5 separate regions of the Homo sapiens genome follow, and regions 1, 3, 4 and 5 are each linked to region 2. Evidence: promoter capture Hi-C in 16 types of primary human blood cells and fetal thymus (Javierre and others, 2016). All regions are on one chromosome and are shown on one strand. Each heading gives the region's core, a stretch centred on a gene start or on the middle of the fragment in contact. The rest is flanking DNA. Distances are from core to core; before and after follow the strand shown. Region 1 overlaps MAD2L1-DT (MAD2L1 divergent transcript). Region 2 holds the start of NDNF (neuron derived neurotrophic factor). Region 3 has its middle 130 kb from the start of MAD2L1-DT. Region 4 overlaps MAD2L1-DT (MAD2L1 divergent transcript). Region 5 overlaps MAD2L1-DT (MAD2L1 divergent transcript).

Region 1 (2,700 bases), core at 39-2,538, 940 kb after region 2:
TAGGAAACAACCACATCTGTGAAAGGCTCAAAATAGTGACTCCAATCCCAGAAAATATATTTTCCTACAAGAAACAAGAAAGTGTTTTCACGAAAAATAAATTGTAATAGAAATTAAAGTTTCTGGATAATGTAAACTTTTTTGTTTTTTTTAATTAAGCATGTCATATAATGTAAATGCTTTATGTTGATTGAAATAAATGCCAAAGGTAATCATAATTATTTTCTTTTTCTAAGATCCAAAAAATAATTTAACCTTTATACCAGATGAATCAAAGTTATGTAAGACTTTTAGAAATGTTTTTATGTCATTTCCTGTTGATCTCATGATCAAATTACCACCACACAAATTTTTCATATCTATAATTCTAAAAAGCCAGATTTCCAAGAAAATCCTGAAATTCCCAGAAAATAATACTTGAAACTCTAAGTATTTCCCTTCAAATGACAACAGATAAGTGATAACTTTTTTGGCATTAGCACCTTCAGCATTTAACCTCTGATAAGCCTGAACACAGACAAATATTACAGAGATCTTCATTCAACACATAGCAGTAAAAATTTCACTAAATCCTGCCTTGGGATATGAATGTCTTTTTACTGAGCCATTGAAATCTGTATATATTTTCTTTGAGAAATAGATTTTTGTGACCATGGAAATGTTTTCTTCTATGAATCACTGAAAAACATGATATATGTTCCTCCAAATTAATGAATTATCCATAATTATATAACAACTTTAGGTCATTTATAGTATTTAAAATGTCTGCCTATTACACTGATAGTGTCACATCCCTGAATAAAACAAGGTCTTATTTTTCTTTTTGTCATTTCTTTTCTTTGCAGACCCCAAATATTTTATTTATTTCTCATTGACTACCCACTGTATTACTGTATCCCACATTAATTTCGTCCCATCGTTTTCCGGATGTATCTACTGAGTAGAAAGTCCAGAAATTTTGAAGGAAGCAAAGAAAAAATAGCAGCAGTTTGTAAAGATTCTAGATCGATTTCATCAGTGACATTCTGTCAAATGGAATTCTTATACCTCTCACTATAACTCAGTAAGGACTGGCTCCTGGAGACATGAACAGTTTTAGATACTCTGACATTTAATGTCAACCAATGTATTGAGGACAGCCATTGTAACCATAAAATTGTATTTTTACCCTTAGAAACAATGTTTCATCATTATAGGCTGTCACTATTATTCGCTAGTACAATTAAGGTATTTTTCTTTCTGAGTCTTTGTATGACCTAAAATCACATAATCATGACTTATACTAAACAGGACTGAACTGTCTTAAGTAGATATTTATGTCTGGTTTATAAGTCTGCGTGTCTATGAAACAGGAAGATACTTTTAACTGTTAAAATCTCCCTGCAACATGACTTAAATGTTCTCATATATTTCCTCTATTACTAGCTTTATTATTTGCTAATTGTTAATTCATCTATAAGTGTTGCTTTAAATTAACATAAAATTTTCTATATACACACATGTAGATAGGCCCACCTGTAATAAATTATAAACCCACCTTTTAATATGGTGTGTTTATTCCTGCTTTTTTCTGGATAAATTTAATCCTTCCTCATTCTAAATCGATGTTTTCCAATTTTGATCTATGACTCAGTCCACTTCAAATAAATCTGAGAAATAAAACATATCTATACTCCTTTTGAAAAACTAATGTACATTGTATATGGAAGGCCCTGATGACTCTCCAATAAAAGAAATTTTTTAAAAAATGTGGAATCCTTAACTTCCCACTGAACACTTTCATAGTATAACATGATATCCAGGAAAGTAACAATGCTTGGAGCACTTTTGAGGGCATGGGCTTGATACAAGAGTGGAAGATCATATATAATTTCTGTCACAGAGGAGGCATATCTATTTCTTCTAGAAAATAAATTGAATCACTAATCATCATTTCGCTATGTTCTAAAATTCCTGAAAATGTAACAGAGAGAGTCAGTCTGGTTACATTACATTGATTATATCATTTCGTTGAATCTAGAAACTACACAAATAATTATGATCAGGCCTAGAAATTGCTAAATATATATTTTATTTTATTGACAGACATGTATATATTCTTCTGTCACAGACCATATGCATTTAGAGATATATTTTGTTCATATATATTCTCTTCATAACCCAAAAAACTAGAATAACACTATTAAATCTTCTTATTATGAATGAAGACAGACATTGTGCTTTCCAAAGCAGCTACGGCCTCAGAAATATTCAACTTACACAGTAATTGGCACCTAAAAGCATTCATATATCAACCAAAATAATGAGGCAGTATGGGTTAAGGGTCTGAGTTCTAGATTCAGATCCTAGCTCTACCACCTTAATAGCTGTGTGATCTTGAAAAAAATTACCAATTTCTCTGAGTTTCATTAGGGAAATAACAACAGAACTTTTTTGTCATGGAGCAGTTTTCAGTAATAAATAAGATAATAAATGTGCAGCATGCAGCACAATAGTTGACATTATGAGCACCTGATAAGTCTTATATATTAATATTATCTAAATGGTCTGTTTCCACCTACAGAACACTCAGGGAAAATAAATTATTTTTCCTCCCCAAATACTTTCTATCATACAATTATGAAACCCAAAACAGCATGATGTCAAAATTATCAACATTTATAGGACTTTTAAGGAAACAAAAATGCATCTAAATTTCCA
Region 2 (2,700 bases), core at 123-2,622:
AGGCAGCACCATCACCTCTAAATCTCAGCACATAAGACATACCTGGTACACAGCAGGGACTTCGTAAGCTTTGTTAATGAATGACCCAGGGATCTGCTCTAGATCGTATCTCCTAAGTGGAGATACAATGAGGACTTTTCTCACCTCATTGTCTCATCTGCAAAAAATATGCTTGCACAGTGATCTGAAATGTCCTTTTCAGTGTTTAAAAATTTTACAAAACTATTTTATGTCGTGTAAACGGTTTTATAAATCCATTTCCTGCAGTGTTTTCATCTAGGAACCACAAAACTTTAGGAGCTGCATTGGTCCACCCTCTGTGACCAACTGTTTAGCAAAAAAGATCATAGTTCTTAATATGACCGGGATAAGGCTGATTTTCATCCTACCTACCTTAATTTCATTGTGGCAATAACAGAACTAGTGTTTTCAATACTGACACTATATCTTAATAAATAATTATATATTATTAGAACTTATATAAAACCAGGTTTGCTGGAAATCAGGTTCTCAGTTGCAAAAATGAGATCACCAAATCATTCGGTACTTTTTTTTTCTTGGTTTTCCTAAGCCCAGGCCAGGTTGCTAATTAGGTAACTTTTTATCATAATTACCTAGTCAGCCTTAATGGCTTCACACACTCTGCTCCGTTTCACTGGTCCTGTAGGGCCGCTTTTTCAATTGTTAAAACAGCTGCTGAGTTTCAAATCGGAGGAGGCTCGGTCTGCGCCGAGGGGGAAGCGCTCCCTGAGTGAAGGCTGTGATAGGCAGGCGTTCGGGTGAAAAGTGGGACATGAATGCACAGTTTGCACACTCTGCTTTCCGCCTCCAACCACCAACCTTCTGGATTTAACACGTCCCCCTCCCTGCCCCCAGATCAACCCCAGAGTTTCCCTCTATTGTGCACCCCGGTCTGCTTGACAGTGTGATGGTCCCGCGTGCGCGTCTCCTGGGTTTTGCAGCTTTGTCGGGGGCTCGGTGGGCCTCCTTCATTCTCCCCGAGTGGCGCTAAGGTTAGGACAGCAGCGTGTCCCTCGCGATGCCGCCCGCGAGGGTCCTGTTTGGGGAGCGCTGGGTCGCTGAGCAGGGTGGTGTGTGTGTGAGAGAAAGAGAGGGAGGGAGGGCTACAGGGAGAGAGAAAAGGAGGGAGAGGGTGTCTGTGTGTGAGTGTGTGTATGTGTATGAGTGTGTGTGTGTGTGTGTGTGTGTGCGTGCGCGCTGGCGCGCAGCGGGAGGGAGAGAAGGAGGGACGGAGGGGGAGGCAACGGGCAGAGGAGGGAGGGGGCGGGCGGGCAGCGGTGAGGCGGGAGGGGTTAGGGCTGGGAGGGGAAGAGACTCCGGGCTTCAGCAGTGACACTCGGGAGCGAACACACACTCCCCACTTCCAGCCGCGAGAGAGTGGAGCTAACTGAGCAGCGCACCCGCCACGGCCGCTGCCGCCCCGTGCGCCCGGCTCTCCCAGCACCCCGCGCGGCGCTCCAGCCAGGCGCCTGTGCGACTAGCGGCGGCCGGCGAAGCCCGCGCCAGCCCCGCGGGTCGCTGCGGCATCCTCCCGCCGCCCAGCCCCCGCACGCTCCCTGCAGTTTAAAAGGACCTCCCGCCGCTTCTCGGCGCTGCCCCGGGATTCCCCAGCCCCGCGCGGCTCCCTACTCCACTTCGCAGCAACTTCGGCGACCGCGCGCCGCCCGCCCTCGCCCGCCTTTGAAGTTTGCTGTGCCGACCGCAAAGTTGGGACACTTCAGCGGATTGAATTTTTCTCTTTTATCTGCCTCCGTCCCCGCCCTCCAGGCTTCTCGTTCCTGGATATTGGTGCTTAGCATCTTGGCAGGGTCCGGGGACGTGGACTATTTCGCACACCACACCACGGGGAGGGATTTTTTTCTATTTTCCCTACGAAAAACAGATCTTTTTAAGGTAAGTGGGGAGAGGAAAGCAATGCCCCAGAGACCCGACGCCTTAGCCCGCCACCCTGAGACCTAGCACAAGGAGCGTTCACGCCCGAAGGGTCATCCGAGATGGGGGCTCGAGGCACGCGCCCCCAAATCTTCAAGGCCCAAGAAGCTTCTCAAGGGCGCCCTATCCGTAGGAGCTGAGGGCATGAGGGGCAGGAGCAGGTTTCCCTCGTTTTTTTTTTTTTATTGTTGTTGTTGTTTGTTTGTTTGTTTGTTTTTAATTTAGCTGCTTTCGAAGCTGGGCGGCCCGGAGAGATGTGAGGAGGTGGACAGACAGCGCAAGGGCGGGGAAGACCTGGGACCCGGGAGCTCGGGGTGCAGTGGGGTCTGGGGAGCCGCGGAGCCTTTATCCCGGACTTAGCCTGGACACTTACTTTGCCCGCCTGCCAAGAGGGCTGTTGCCTCCCTTTCCAGGTTCATGCCCTCCGCCCGCCGCTAGGGAAAGTCTGCGGGACTGGGGTTTTGCAGAGGGCGTCTGCGTGTAGGGCGAAAAGCTAGAGGTCCAGGCAGCGCACGAGTTCTTGGTGGGCGTCTGGGAGCTGCGCAGCCGGGGCCGGGAGTTCGGTTGGCCCGACCCCCAACCGCTCTGGCTCCTCATTTGTCCTCTGCGTGGTAGGCGAGCATCGTTATAGAAACTTCCTTGGGCTGAGCGAGGTGGCCTGGGACCGGCTCATACTTTCTTCCGGAGAGCAGAGCGGCCACCGAGGTGACGCCCCCTACGGCCCCAGCCAGGAGACTCGGCTTCGTG
Region 3 (2,700 bases), core at 40-2,539, 880 kb after region 2:
GTTTTGTTGTAGCTGTGCTGGCAGCCTTTGGAAGGTGCTCTGAGGGTGGGTCTTTGTCTCCCAGTCCACAGACTCAAATGTCAGTCTCCTCTGGCAACAGCCTCACAGACACACCCAGTTCTTTACCAGCCACCTATGCATCCCTCAACCCAATCAAGTTGACACCTCATATTAACCATCACAGATGGTCATATGTTTACTATGTGAAATGAGTATACAAAATAGATCCAAGAAAAAAAAATTGTCTTTGATTAGGAAAGCTTTGGAAAGGGCTCTTCTTTTCTTGGTCTTTGTTTATTATTTATCATTTTATAAGAAATAAATGGATGAGTAAAATTGAAATGTAAACTTATTCAAGGAAGTCTCTGTTTTTAGGTATTTGCCTGGGTTTTGTTAATGAATATTTTGAACTAACAGAGACATTTTTGTGGTGATTATTTCCAGAATTTCCCCTGAATTACAAACAACCTTGCTTAGACCTTGACTTGAAGACATCTATGTGTAACTTGCCTTCAATATATGAGGTTCATACTTTGCCTATTTCATTAGTACATGATAATGCTATTCTTTTGTGAGACAGAAATCTTGAGTTCATTACAAGATACATGCTTAATAAATTAATAATAAGATCACTTGGGAATTATACTCAATGCTGAAGTCTTATATTTTAATAATGTAAATCATGTACTTGGCATGCTTTCATATAATCAGGTCTTAATCAGGCATGAAAAGAATAAATACCTAATTTGAAGGCTGATTTTTGAGCCACAGATGTATTTGTGTAATGCTCACAGCCTGATTTGAACACCTACCTATGAAATGACAGAGAATCATTGAAGTAGATTTCTTTGTTTCACCTTGAAGCTTTTCAGAATGTATAACTTTGACAATCATAAGAGAAAAAGAAACTGAGTTTGATTTGTGACTTTTATGTTATAGTTAAATAGCAACATGGTTCTTGAGTTCACTGGGGACTTGTAGGCCACTCTATCACTTTCCCATGCTGTCTGACATCTTAAAGGAAAGACAAAGAGTAGATGAAAGAAAGTACATGAACCGAGAACTCCAAGGAGAGTACCAAACGATGTTGACTTTCAAGGAAGGTGAAATATTATTTCTATGTAGATTTTTCTGATAAAATTCTGCCTTTCTAGTAACTCAGCACTTGATCGAGTAATCTGTCATTGTGCCCCCACAGTGATATTTTACCCAAATGCAGTGTATCATAAGAAAAACTAATTAATTTTGACTTCTCTGCATCTGTCCCCAGAAGACTCAGGTCTCTTGTTTGCATGGAATAATTAAAGAAAAATAAAATTTCCCCAAAGAGAAGAACTTTTGGTTCTGTTACTGTAAAACATAGAAATAAAATAATTTGTTACCTTGGAAAGAAATGAACTGCAAACTCTTTCCATCTGTTTATTTAGGAGGGAAGGCAGGTTACTTCATGCTCACTGCCATACATGATTAGCTTTTTTGCTCTGGCTTCTGCAGTATGGAGGATTATTCATCTATCAACAGCTTCACACACCAGGCCTGGCTATGCCTATCCTTACTACAGGATGGGCAAGTCATGTATGATGCCCAGAGTTGTAGGCAATAATGTTATCTAACCAGGCAAATTTGTTACATGTTAGCTGCAGCTCAGAGGGAGACATGAAAATTTAAACCTCCTAGGCAAGAGGCAATCACTGAATCTCCAGCCCAAAGCTTGACATGTCATCCCCAATCAATCAGTTGTAAGGGATCACAGAATATTTTCTAGGCTTTTATTCTGGAAGAGGTTAGAGACTGAGTATTACTTGAAGAAACCAGAGCTTATCACAAATTCCATCAACATCACTTTTGCAAGTAGGATAACAAATGAGTAAACTTTGTCATGGGTGGCCAAAGTCTCGTTAATTGGACAGAGGACTTACAGGTTGGGTAAAAGATAAATAATTATTCAAATTAGAAGCAGTTTCATAAAATTAACATTGACTTTGTAAAAAATACCTTTGAAAAGCTCTAATCCACTTTCACCAAGTCTCATGAATTGCAGGACTTTCTGGAATTGTTAATTTAAGATAATTGCAGCACTTTGGGAGGCCGAGGCAGGTGGATCACAAGGTCAGGAGATCGAGACCATCCTGGCTAACACAGTGAAACCCTGTCTCTACTAAAACTACAAAAAATTAGCCGGGCGTGGTGGCACATGCCTGTAATCCCAGATACTCAGGAGGCTGAGGCAGGAGAATCATTTGAACCTGGGATACAGAGGTTTCAATGAGCCAAGATCAAGCCACTGCACTCCAGCCTGGGCAACAGAGCAAGATTCTGTCTCAAAAAAAGATAATAGGAAAGGTTTATGAAACTAATGTCTTTGATTTACTTTTTATGCTATAAATAAAATGTATACAAAACAAACTTATCACTCACATTCAGAATGATTGGCAAGAGTGAATACAGAAGGATTAAAAATAAAATTACCCTGCACGTTTCAAAAGAATAAAAAGAATTTTTAAAACATGTTAAGCATTCTTATTGAGACTGGCAATGACTTGGGATAATCAGTTTTGACTTGAAAACAGATAGCAGGTTAGCAATTTTTTGTCTTCACATTCTGAAACTCATAAAGAGAAATGTGAGATCTCTGAATGACGAAATTTTATCATTTCAGTCAAATCATACTTGAGAAAAAATATAGTGCTTTTGATATTG
Region 4 (2,700 bases), core at 167-2,666, 910 kb after region 2:
AGGTTTGTAGCCCAGAAGCAATAGTCTATACCATATAGCCTAGGTGTGTAGTAGGCTATAGCATCTAGGTTTGTGCAAGGACACTCTACAATGTTCGCACAACAAAATTGCACAATACATTTCTCAGAATATATCACTGTTGTTAAGCAATGTATGACTGTATAAGAAATGAAGTGGCTGTTGGAGGAGTGCTAGAATAGCTATCTATTGCTGCGTAAGCTACTACCCCAAAACTTTGTGGCATAAAGTAACAATATTATCTCATAGACTTTCTGTAAACTTGGAATTCAAGAACAATTTATCTTGGTGGCTCTGGCTTAGAATCTCTCATGTGGTTACTGTCAGATGTCAACCAGGATTGTCATCTAAAGGAATGACTAAAACTACAAGATCACTTGCAAGCTTGCTCACACAGCTGGCCTGCAAGTTGGTGGAGCCATGATGGAAAGGCCTTAGTTGCTGTCCACATGGACATCTCTGTAGGGCTGCTTGACTATTCTCATGATATGGTGGCTCGTTTCTACCAGAGTGAGTGACCTAAGAGGAAGCAAGGCAGAAGAGGCAAAGTTTTTTTTTTTTTTTTTTTTTTTTACCATGTAGCCTCAGAAGTCACACATGGCCAGTTCTGTCACATTCTATTCACAAGAAAGGATTATTAAAGTTGGTACACCTTCAAGAAGAGGAATGTTAGGCTCTATTTTTTCTTTTCTTTTTTTCTTTTTTTTTTTTTTTTTGGAGACAGAGTCTTTCTCTGTCTCCCAGGCTGGAGTGCAGTGGTACGATCTCAGCTTACTGCAACCTCTGCCTCCCAGGTTCAAGCAATTCTCCTGCCTCAGCCTCCCGAGTAGCTTGGATTACAGGCCCGTGCCACCACGCCCAGCTAATTTTTGTATTTTTAGTAGAGACGGGGTTTCGTCATGTTGGCCAAACTTGTCTTGAACTCCTGACCTCAGGTGATCCATTCGCCTTGGCTTCCCAAAGTGTTGGGATTACAGGCGTGAACCACCGCACCCGGCCCAGCTCTACTTTTTCAAGAGGATTGTGTCAAATAATTTTTGAACACATTTAAAAACTACCACATGAAAATCTTTTATAGTACCTAGTTTCAGACTTACCAAGATTTGTAATAAGTATAATAACCAATAGAAACACCAAATGAACAACTTAACTCTTGGAGTAGAATTGAGGTAAAATTATCATTTTTGGAATTACCTACATCGAGGTATTGGATGAAGACCTAAAGGCACTGAAAAACATGAAAACGGGGAATTTAGAAAGAGAAGAACACAATTGTATGTACTATTTGAGAGTGGTTAGAAGAGAAGAGAGATACCAGAAAAGAAAATAAGAAAACAGAGAAGGGACAGTAATAGCAAATTTTATGTAAAAAATCAAGGACAGTGAAGCCACCAATGTTCTCTGCAGGGGCAATAACAGTTCTTTGTCAATAGTACCAAATAAAGATGGGATCTAGAGATCAGAATAGCTTCTTTTGTCAGATGGACTCTTACTTGTCTTCTTCCTTAGAAGCTGAGAATTAGGAAGACAGGTAATTGGAGGAGAATCAGGAAACTATTCAGAGCTCTGATCAAAACAATTAAAATATGACTAACCCAGCGTCACCTATATTAAAGACAATTTTATACCCTGTAAGTCATTCTTGAGGTAGCCATAAAAAGATATTCAAGCAGACATATGTCTGTATTGCATAGAAAAAGAAAATTAATGACAAAATCTAAAAGCAAATCAGTATGTGAGTTAAAACAAAGCAGGGTTAAAATGGGCATTTAAGAACACAATACCTTGTAGTTGCATGGAAAAATATGTCACTATATCACAAGTAAAACTGTGAAGAAGAAATACTGCTAATGCTGACATTTGCAGTTACAGCACTCTCACAAAGATGTTTGCAAATGTGCAGTAGTAGAAAAGGGCAGTAATATCAAAACATGGCCTTCTTTTTATCTTGTGTCTTCAGAGGGTTGCAATTAACAAAATCAACTACATTCTAAAAAATAAAGGAAAACGTTAACTTTTAAAATTCTCCTCAGGAAGACCAAAGCATTGCTAGACAAAAAATAAGAATGAAATCATTTTTTCCAAATAACTCTTCAGCAAAATTATGAAAGGCTCTGTGTGACAAGAACTCTATTTCAAGGACAAGAACTGAAAGCCATCAAGGCAGCTTGGCCAGGTAGAAAATGACATCACCTTATAAAATCCCTTTGATATCCACAGGCTGGTTTTCAAATAATGATTACATGCTTAGGTTAGCTTCTCAATAGCTAAAAGAATCATTTATTGTATACTTTTTCTCCAGGAAAAAGGGTTCTAAGTATTTTGCTTAAGAGTTTTGTTTACTTTGGTTCTTTAAACTAAGGAACCATAGTGCAGATCCCAACCCCATGAAACATACTAAGACAAGCTTCACCATTCCTAAGAAGCTGCCTTGCCACAAAGTGGCCATGTGGTGTCTGTCCGTCTGGGTTCTGTGCAGGTTCAATCGCTTCATTTAAAACATAATAAAACTATGGAGAATTGAACTTGGTGACCCTGTTTCACAGTTTTCCAAAGCACAAAAAAAGAATTGAATCGAGGGCATTGAAAAGTGAGTCCAAACTTTTATGGGTTTTCTTTCCCCCAGACCTCAGACAACAGCATTGTCATGAAGCAGCAGTATTCCTAAAGGGGAGTCTGGGT
Region 5 (2,700 bases), core at 106-2,605, 980 kb after region 2:
CAAAAATATAACGCACCCAAGGTGAAATTCACAATGTCTCATGTTAAAATATGATCAGGAATACAAAGAAGCAGGGAAATATAATCTATAATGAGGAAAAAATAAATCAATCAAAATTGACACAGAAATGACACAGATAATAGAATTGGTAGTCAAAGATATTAAACCTAAAATACATAAAACATAATATGGTTCTTATAACTGTATTCCATTTGTTGAAGCAGTTAAGAAAAGATTGAACATGTTAAGTAAAGATATAGAGGCCAGGCGAGGTGGCTCACACCTGTAATCCCAGCACTTCTGGAGGCCGAGGTGGGCAGATCATGAGGTCAAGAGTTCAAGACCAGCCTGGCCAACATAGTGAAACCCCATCTCTACTAAAAATACAAAAAAAAAAAAAAAATTAGCAGGGTAGTGGTGGCAGGTGCCTGTAATCCCACCTACTCAGGAGGCTGAGACAGGAGAATCACTTGAACCTGGGAGGCGGAGGTTGCAGTGAGCAGAGATTGCACCATTGCACTCCAGCCTGGGTAACAGCACAAGACTCCATCTCAAAAAAAATTAAATTAAATTAAATTAAATAAATAAATAAGTCTACGTCTGGAATACTCCGACTCTAGAAATCAACTTTATCTTTAATAAAAGTGCTATATTAAAATATTATTTTCTTCTGTTGAAATCCTGCATCTGTCTCTGGATTGGTTCAAGGATTAAGATGGGGAAAAAAGGGATAGATCCTCACTAAACTCCAAAATCTTGGTAGATATACAAGGAGTCTTGAGTAATAAATAAGAAATGGACCAGGTGGGTAGGTTTTGGGGGACAAAATCGCATAGGAAATTACAGTATTTTAATGCAGGGCTGAGGGCTTTAGGTGATAACCTATGTGGGCTTTCAACCCTGAGTGAGGCACAGAATCTGGCAGATAATTTAAGACTTTGGGTTGCTTTGGTTGACCTTGCGGGTGTGGCTGAGACAGAGTGGGTGTTTTCAGGCATTGCTGGGTGGAATATTTGCAGCTTTCATTGTGTCTCTGAGCCAAGACTTCAGGTTTGTGCTACAAAATCCAAAGGCAGCACTGTGGCAAGGCCTTAAGATGTGGCTATTAACTGGTCCTTGTACACTCCTGGGATGTAATGTTACCTGCTCTGTCTGGGACACTAAGGTATATAGTTGCTGTTTTGAGGGGAAGCCCTACACAGTTGCAGAATGAGTTTGGGGAGGGGGACCTTTATAGACGAGAAAACTGTGTCTTTTCACATGGTCCACTCAAGTCAAAGAGATTTTCAGTAGCAGATACCAATGTATCCCAGAGGAGTTGTGTTGTCCACACATTAAAAAAAATGATAAACAAGGTGAGTAAAACAGAGGAAGTTATGAAGTGTTTTTGATGATGGTTGTGACTACCTAAAGCATCTGAAAGAACCATCTGGGCCCTCAGTGCTTATTCCCCTTATTCCCAAAAACACATCAGTACATGCAGGAAAAGAGATGAGAAAGAAGGAATTTTGTAATTCCAGGCCCTGAAATTAATTTGCCTTAATCAATGTTTACATCAGAGTTTGAGAAAGATATTAGATAGTTAATGGATTATGGATGAGAAAAAAAAAGTGAAAGCAAGGAATAATGACTGATTTTCAAAGCCCATTTTCAGATGAAGATTATTTGTCTGCCTGGGAAAATCTCACAAAGTCATAGAAAGCCACTTTTTTAAGGAAGAGGAAATGTGTTGTCATTTCATAGAATATAACTTCCTGAGTCCTAAAAAGAAAAGAGTAGCTGACCCTATAAAAAGAGAAGTTTGAGAACTTTTATGAACAATATGATGATTTTAAGATTGTAGCTCTGGATGATGACAAATTGGAGGGTTTCATTCACATAGACAGAGTGGACCTGAGTTACTTGAGCAATCGTTTACACAAAGTTTTGAATGACTGATACAAAGAGAAGGCAGCAAATTGTGTAAAGCTGAATACTCTTTAAGCCTCTGAGGATAAAATTGTCTGCCAGTAAATGAGATTGATGAGTTGGGGGAGGTAGAGATAATTCCTATAGTTCTAAAAGAAGCAAAAGCAAATTGATGAAGAATCCATTTGCCGTGCATGCTCACATTTATATAACCATCTTTAGTTTATCCAGCATCAACGAAAGCCCAACAAATCCAAAAATGAGAAACAGGAATATCTCTCAATGGCTTACCAAAGAAAGAACTCAACGCAAATCAAATTGAATATGTGCAGATGATTAATGGCAGGGATCTGCAAAGGGTATCAACCCACATTCTAAAAATGAAAGCAAAGAAAATAAAAGAGAAAGAAAGCAAGCTGTAAAAGAGCACAAGAGAATGGAGAAGAAAGCTAACAAATGAACCTTCAAACTAGAGAAAAGAAGGCAGGAAAATGAACTACTGAACCTGAAGAAGAATGTTGAGGGTCTAAAGTTATCACAATGGGACATTTAGAAAAAGGCACATTCCCCATTAGGAACTCCTCATTATATTCAATTATGAACCAGAATATTTTTACTGCCATTTTTTACTAATGGGTATTGAAAAAGAAAGTACGGTATTTAAATTAATTCTTTACCAAGTTTTTCCTGCTAACCCTCTTGTACATATTTTCATATTTTTATTTTAATTTCTGTATTAATGTTATTTTAATGTTTAATTTTCAATGTTGACATTAAAATTAGTGTTATAAT

What was found. Contacts are between HindIII fragments. The CHiCAGO score rates a contact against its expected background, and 5 or more counts as called.
Region 1: a contact is called between a fragment that was not itself captured here and the fragment with the promoter of NDNF in region 2, in 7 of 17 cell types (M1 macrophages, endothelial precursors, M0 macrophages and 4 more). The highest score is 8.4, in M1 macrophages.
Region 3: a contact is called between a fragment that was not itself captured here and the fragment with the promoter of NDNF in region 2, in 1 of 17 cell types (endothelial precursors). The highest score is 5.5, in endothelial precursors.
Region 4: a fragment that was not itself captured here is called in contact with the fragment with the promoter of NDNF in region 2 in 11 of 17 cell types (erythroblasts, activated CD4 T cells, monocytes and 8 more); the score reaches 8.5 in erythroblasts.
Region 5: a contact is called between a fragment that was not itself captured here and the fragment with the promoter of NDNF in region 2, in 4 of 17 cell types (endothelial precursors, megakaryocytes, total CD8 T cells and 1 more). The highest score is 8.6, in endothelial precursors.

What each region holds. Positions count from the first base shown.
Region 1 is chr4:120,133,651-120,136,350 of GRCh38, reverse strand. All of the region lies in intron 2 of MAD2L1-DT (MAD2L1 divergent transcript), which reads right to left. Among named protein-coding and RNA genes, the nearest start is that of MAD2L1-DT, 68 kb to the right of the region's middle. The HindIII fragment of the contact is 2,947 bases long and covers 1-2,700 here.
Region 2 is chr4:121,071,207-121,073,906 of GRCh38, reverse strand. It overlaps NDNF (neuron derived neurotrophic factor), which reads left to right and starts at 1,372. Exons shown (of 4, transcript NM_024574.4): 1 at 1,372-1,914. NDNF-AS1 (NDNF antisense RNA 1) reads right to left here and starts at 2,545. Exons shown (of 3, transcript NR_187407.1): 1 at 2,327-2,545; 2 at 43-157. The HindIII fragment of the contact is 1,993 bases long and covers 71-2,063 here.
Region 3 is chr4:120,193,349-120,196,048 of GRCh38, reverse strand. No RefSeq gene overlaps it. Among named protein-coding and RNA genes, the nearest start is that of MAD2L1-DT, 130 kb to the right of the region's middle. The HindIII fragment of the contact is 846 bases long and covers 867-1,712 here.
Region 4 is chr4:120,159,018-120,161,717 of GRCh38, reverse strand. The region is part of intron 3 of MAD2L1-DT (MAD2L1 divergent transcript); the gene reads right to left. Among named protein-coding and RNA genes, the nearest start is that of MAD2L1-DT, 93 kb to the right of the region's middle. The HindIII fragment of the contact is 2,023 bases long and covers 405-2,427 here.
Region 5 is chr4:120,090,792-120,093,491 of GRCh38, reverse strand. All of the region lies in intron 2 of MAD2L1-DT (MAD2L1 divergent transcript), which reads right to left. It also overlaps the pseudogene LTV1P1. Among named protein-coding and RNA genes, the nearest start is that of MAD2L1-DT, 25 kb to the right of the region's middle. The HindIII fragment of the contact is 2,749 bases long and covers 1-2,700 here.